Regions from separate parts of the Homo sapiens genome. Here region 2 is linked to region 1. The links are contacts of gene promoters, found by promoter capture Hi-C in blood cells and fetal thymus (Javierre and others, 2016). All regions are on one chromosome and are shown on one strand. The core of a region is centred on a gene start or on the middle of the fragment in contact, and the rest is flanking DNA. Distances in the headings are between cores, read along the strand shown. Region 1 holds the start of CHRNA9 (cholinergic receptor nicotinic alpha 9 subunit). Region 2 overlaps N4BP2 (NEDD4 binding protein 2).

Region 1 (3,050 bases), core at 268-2,767:
AATTAAACATAGATAAGCACTAATAAGCTATGCCATCTTAAAACACTACCTTTTTTAAAAAATTGAGATTGGCCGGGCGCGGTGGCTCATGCCTGTAATCCCAGCACTTTGGGAGGCCGAGGCGGGCGAATCATGAGGTCAGGAGATTGAGACCATCCTGACTAACACGGTAAAACCCTGTCTCTACTAAAAATACAAAAAAAAAATTAGCCGGGTGTGGTGGCGGGTGCCTGTAGTCTCAGCTACTCAGGAGGCTGAGGCAGGAGAATGGTGTGAACCCAGGAGGCAGAGCTTACAGTGAGCGGAGATCATGCCACTGCACTCCAGCCTGGGTGACAGCAAGACTCCGTCTCAAAAAAAAAATTAAGATCAAATTCACATTAAAACTCACCATTTTAATCATTTTCGAAGGGAACAATGCACCGGCTTCCAATATATTCACAACGTTGTGCAACCATCACCACTGCCTAATTCAAGATCATTTCTTCCCCCCGCAAAGAAACGCCGTAATCATTAAGAACTCACTGGCCGTTTTCCCCGTCCTCCCCACAGACCCCGGCAACCTCTATGCCGTTTTCTGTCTCTACGGATTTACCTCTTTTGGACATTTTATATAAATGGCTGCATACAGTATGTAACCCCATCTTTCTTTAGATTATCTAAGACTGTTACAGTTAATGACCAGGATTAGGTAACGTTTCTTGAAATTAATTAGTTTTGTAGAAAGCTTCCTTTTCCCGACATTCTCTTCTCCCACCAGCTTGCTTAAGGAGCTATCATTCCCTCTCAAATTCCCAGTTAAGACATTCTCTTCAGAAAGCATGGTTGTTTATCCTCTAAGAATCATTCCACAGAGTCAGCACCATGTGTTACTCACCATATCCTTAATCTGAGAGAGCGTAATCTGCAGGGTCACATTCAGGACTTTATCTGTATCTTCCACTGGACGAAGAGCATTAGAATAATCTTCAAAAAGGTCATTAAACAACTTCTGAGCATATTTTCCATCTGCCGTCTCTGCAGCTACTCAACAAGAGGGATCTGGATTAACATTCAGAGTGTTGTGTGTATTTCAAGACAAACAACACAAGACTGAGGTCTAAAATGGGGGATGGCCCAACACTGGCGAGGGACAAGCTTTGGGTGGATGGATGAGTTGTTTTTCTGGCATGCCCTACCAAGATCAGAGTCAGTAGGAAGCACAGAACACTTCCATGCGGTTGAATCATCTGTTTTGTCTTCCCTGTCCTGCCCCACCTCCCACCAAAGCAATAGCCCCAGATGAGACAAGATAGGTTACGTGTCACCAGCCTCTCACCTCTCAGTCTGGAAGCAGCAAAGTAGATCCAGCAAAAGGAGATGCAGGAATGGGACCAGTTCATCTTTTTCCTGAGCCTCTATAATAAAGTCTCAGTCAGGCAGCGTGGTCTTCCACTTCCCCCTATGAATACAAAGGATCTGGGCACAAGGAGCCCACACCGCTGCAGCCTTATGGCGGGAGAGCTCAGGCTTGCATTGCATGCAGGACCGAGATCCTGAGATCCAGGCCTGCCCTCCCTCCCCTCCGGTAATTTGAGACTGGCAGCTCCAGTGGCTGAGAAGCCGGGAACCCAGGGTGTGTTAGGTCCAACAGTGCTGTTGTGGGGGGCCATCTCAGTTGAGGGTCCCTAGCCACCCTCAGCAGAAACAACCAGACAGAAAAGGAGGTAGATGCAGGCAACAGGGGTATGCCTGACACCCCAGAGACTCCATCTAAGCAGAATGGGAGATTTCTACACCCACCATGAGCAGAGTCAGCCTGAGTCCAGGGACTAAGGGAAGCCTAAAAGACTGAGCCATGGGACGGCTGTCCAGAAAGACTCTACGTGCTTTTAGCAGCATTTGAAGAGGGAAAGAGACACGGTTCTATGATCTCCAGAATATATTGGCATTTTGGTTTTTTCTCTGCCTCAGCTTCTGATCCCTCCTGCAGCTGTCCCACTGGGCATGGATCTTGCATAGTAAATGTTTGTGAGTATATATGTGAGGGGGTGTGCTGGATGGGCGGATAATCACTCGCTTAAGAAGCAGCAACACTGTGAGTTGGATTTGGACTTGACCACCTGGGTTTGACTGCCAGCCAAACCCTGACGAGCTCTATTATTCTGTAAAAGTCACCTAACCTCTCTGAGCCTTCCAGAACTACAGACTGGGGAAAATAATATTTTCTCTCTCTAGAGCTACTGAGATAACTGTATGTGAAAGCACTTTCTAAATATCAGTAATTATCATCTTTGATCAGCTTTGCATACCCAGAATTTCTATACTCACCAAGTCACCCAGGATTTACCAGCTCGAAAAAAAAAAAGAAAAACTGGTTCAAAGGCTGACCAAATCAGCATGAGAATAATAACCAATGGTGATATTGCTAATGATGACACCCTTTGCATTTGAATGCTACTTCATATAAAGTTTCAGTCATTTCTCATATGTGATATAATTTTACTCCTATAAAAAAATGTCAATTTTCAATTGCTGCTTAGTCTGGAAACTCATGTCTGTCTCTCCTCTTGCCTGGGGAAACTGCTTTGGAAAACCATATTAAGATAATTTGGTTGCCTGGAATTGGAGCGAGGAAATTGGATAGCTCTGTTTCATCAGGTTACAGCCGCCTGATGAGTCACCCCATCCCTCTTCGGGAATGTATCCTCTGAGTGGAACAGACACTCAAGCCATCGGCAAAGTGTTTCTTAATTGCCTATCCCATTGTGTTGATTGTGAAGACATTATTTTTCTGACGCCCCTAGTCTGACTCATTCATCAAATGACACAATTCCGGGTGCCCACGCTCAGTCCTCCTTCAGCAAACCATCCGCTCCAGAATCTCAGAGGCAGAAGGTAATTTTGAAATTGAGTTTAATGCCTCACTTCTATATGAGGAAACTGAGGCCCAGGGATGCAGAGTGGCTTCCCTCCAGCAGTGATCGGCCAGAGACAGGATCCAGGCCACCTGCCCCAATCCACTGTGCTCCCTGCAACACTAACAATGCATCTCTTCCTTCTCGTTGTCT
Region 2 (3,050 bases), core at 303-2,802, 260 kb after region 1:
AGGTGCGGTGGCTCACACCTGTAATCCCAACACTTTGGAGGCCAAGGTGGGTGGATTACTTGAGGTCAGGAGTTTGAGACCAGCCTGGCCAACATGGTGAGACCCCGTCTCTGCTAAAAATAAAAATTAGCTGGGCATGGTGGTGCACACCTGTAATCCCAGCTACTCAGGAGGGAGGCTGAGACAGGAGAATCACCTGGGAGGCAGAGATTGCAGTGAGCCGAGATGGCACCATTGCAGTCCAGCGTGGGCAACAGAGAGAGGCTCTGTCCCAAAAAAAAAAAAAAGTCCCACAAAAATAAAAGAAAGAAATTTATCTGGGGCCGGGAGTGGTAGCTCACGAGTGTAGTCCTATTACTTTGGGAGGCCTGGGGGGGTACAGGGAGGGATTGCCTGAGCTCAGGAGTTGGAGACCAGCCAGGGCAACGTGATGAAACCTCATCTCTACTAAAATTACAAAAATTAGCCAGGTGGGCCGAGCGCGGTGGCTCACGCCTGTAATCCCAGCACGTTGGGAGGCCGAGGTGGGTGGATCACGAGGTCAGGAGATCAAGACCATCCTGGCAAACATGGCGAAACCCCATCTCTACTAAAAATACAAAAATTAGCTGGGCATGGTGGCACGTGCCTATAATCCCAGCTACTCAGGAGGCTGAGGCAGGAGAATTGCTTGAACCAGGGAGTCGAAGGTTGCAGTGAGCCAAGATCACGCCACTGAACTCCAGCCTGGCGACAAAGTGAGACTCCATATCAAAAAAAAAAAAAAAAAAAAAATTAGCCAGGCATAGTGGCACACGCCTGTAGTCTCAGCTTACTCAGGAGGCTGACGCACAAGAATCACTTGAACCCGGAAGGCGGAGATTGCAGTGAGCTGAGATTGTGCCACCGCACTCCAGCTTGGGTGACAGAAGGAGACTCCATCTCAAAAAAGAAAAAAAAAATTAGCCAGGCATAGTGGCAAATGCTTGTAGTCCCAGCTTACTCAGGAGGCTGACGCATGAGAATCGCTTGAACCCGGGAGGCAGAGGTTGCAGTGAGCTGAGATTGTGCCACTGCACTCCAGCCTGGGTGACAGAGTGAGTCTCTGTCTCCAAAAAGTCAAAAAATAAAATAAAATAAAATAAAAATGTTTTTTAAAAAAAGAAATTTGAGGCCGGGGGCAGTGGCTCACACCTATAATCCCAGCACTTTGGGAGGCCAAGGCAGGAGGATCACCTGAGGTCAGGAGTTCAAGACCAGCCTGGCCAATATGGCGAAACTTCGTCTCTACTAAAAATACATAATTAGCTGGGCGTGGTGGCGAGAGCCTGTAGTCCCAGCTACTCGGGAGGCTGAGGCAGGAGAATCACCTGAACCCAAGAGACAGAGGTTGCAGTGAGCCGAGATCGCACCATTGCACTCCAGCCTGGGCAACAAGAGCAAAACTCCGTCTCAAAAAAATAAAAAATAAAAAATTTACCTGATGTCAAAGTACCACCCTATAGATTACTACTTGCTAGAAGCAAAAAGAAAACCATAACTTTATAATGAAATGATCAGGTTCTCACCACATTAGCTTGGTGATCAAATACAGCATCAAAATAGTGGGACCTGACATTATATGCCTCTTAACTAGAAACAGTAGGAAGTACACAGCATTACTAAATGAGATACTCTTCCAAAACTGTTTAACCTAAGTCTACTCACACCTTTAGATCTAACTCCCAGTTTACAGGAAATAAATATAGGGGATAGAGGAAGAAGTAATACTACACCATGAGGAAACAAGCAGCAATACAAAATGTAATCGTCTCAACAGACCTAACAGGTCAATACCACAGGGAAGGAGAGGCAGAGTAGGGAAGGAGAGGCAGAGTAGAGAAGGAGGTGGATGGGTAGAAGAGACAGTTCTACCTATATATTTAAAAAGACTCAAGATTACAACCCAAATGCAACGGGTAGTTCTTGACTGAAATCTGGCATTTAAAAAAAAAACACCAGCCTGGCCAACATGGTGAAACCCCGTCTCCACTAAAAATACAAAAATTAGCCAGGCATGGTGGCGGACACCTGTAATCCCAGCTATTTAGGAGGCTGAGGCAAGAGAACTGCATGAACTCAGGAGAAGGAGGTTGCAGTGAGCGAAGATCACGCCACTGCACTCCAGCCTGGGTGATAGAGCAAGACTTCCTCTCAAAAAAAAAAAGAAGAAAAAAAAACACCACACAGCAATCAAAAACATTTTTGGAACAACTCAGGAAATCTGAATATAGTATAAGTAGCATGTATCAGGGAATCAGGTCACATGCCTGTAATCCCAGCACTTTGCGAGGCCAAGGCAGGAGGATCACTTGAGACTACAAGTTTAAGACCAGCCTGGGCAACATGGCAAGACCACATCTCTACAAAAAATACAAAAATTAGCCAGTCATGGTGGTATGTGCCTGTAGCCCCCAGCCACTCCAGGAGGCTGAGGCAGGAGAATGGCTTGAGCCTGGGAGGTCAAGGCTGCAGTAAGCCATGAATGTGCTGCTGTACTCTAGTCTGGGCAACAGAGCAAGACCCTGTCTCAAAAAAAAATCAAAAAGTAGTATAATACTAGGGAATTACTGGTAATTTTGCTAGAAATGATAATGGTTTTATGGCTATATAGGGAGAATGTCCTCCTTTTCCTTGGCGAGATCTGAAGATATACGTCTTCTTATATAATCTTTTAAAAGAGCAAATATCAATCTAAATCTTTAAATGTCAAAGTCCAAAATACATACATTTATAATACAATCATATGATACTTAAAAGGGAAAACTGAAAAAAACTTATTTGCCCCTCTTAGTTTACTTTTAAATGGTTCAGGAAATTTATATATGTAGATAAAACAAATATGGCAAAATGGTAACAATTGTTGAATCAAGCAGGTGGGTACCTGTGGTTTCAATGTATCATACTACTTTTCTATATCTCTATTTTCCTAATGAAAGTTTTTAAAATGTACCATGCTTCAAGCAAACTAGTTTGCTTCTAAGATGTTTGAAAAGATAAAACCATATTTAATCCACTAAAAGAATACCTCT

The links. Contacts are between HindIII fragments. The CHiCAGO score rates a contact against its expected background, and 5 or more counts as called.
Region 2: a fragment that was not itself captured here is called in contact with the fragment with the promoter of CHRNA9 in region 1 in 8 of 17 cell types (naive CD4 T cells, naive CD8 T cells, non-activated CD4 T cells and 5 more); the score reaches 7.9 in naive CD4 T cells.

Annotation. Positions count from the first base shown.
Region 1 is chr4:40,333,800-40,336,849 of GRCh38, reverse strand. It overlaps CHRNA9 (cholinergic receptor nicotinic alpha 9 subunit), which reads right to left and starts at 1,517. Exons shown (of 5, transcript NM_017581.4): 1 at 1,319-1,517; 2 at 878-1,023. The coding sequence starts at 1,382. The HindIII fragment of the contact is 7,151 bases long and covers 1,140-3,050 here.
Region 2 is chr4:40,069,967-40,073,016 of GRCh38, reverse strand. The region is part of intron 1 of N4BP2 (NEDD4 binding protein 2); the gene reads right to left. Among named protein-coding and RNA genes, the nearest start is that of N4BP2, 15 kb to the right of the region's middle. The HindIII fragment of the contact is 6,116 bases long and covers 1-3,050 here.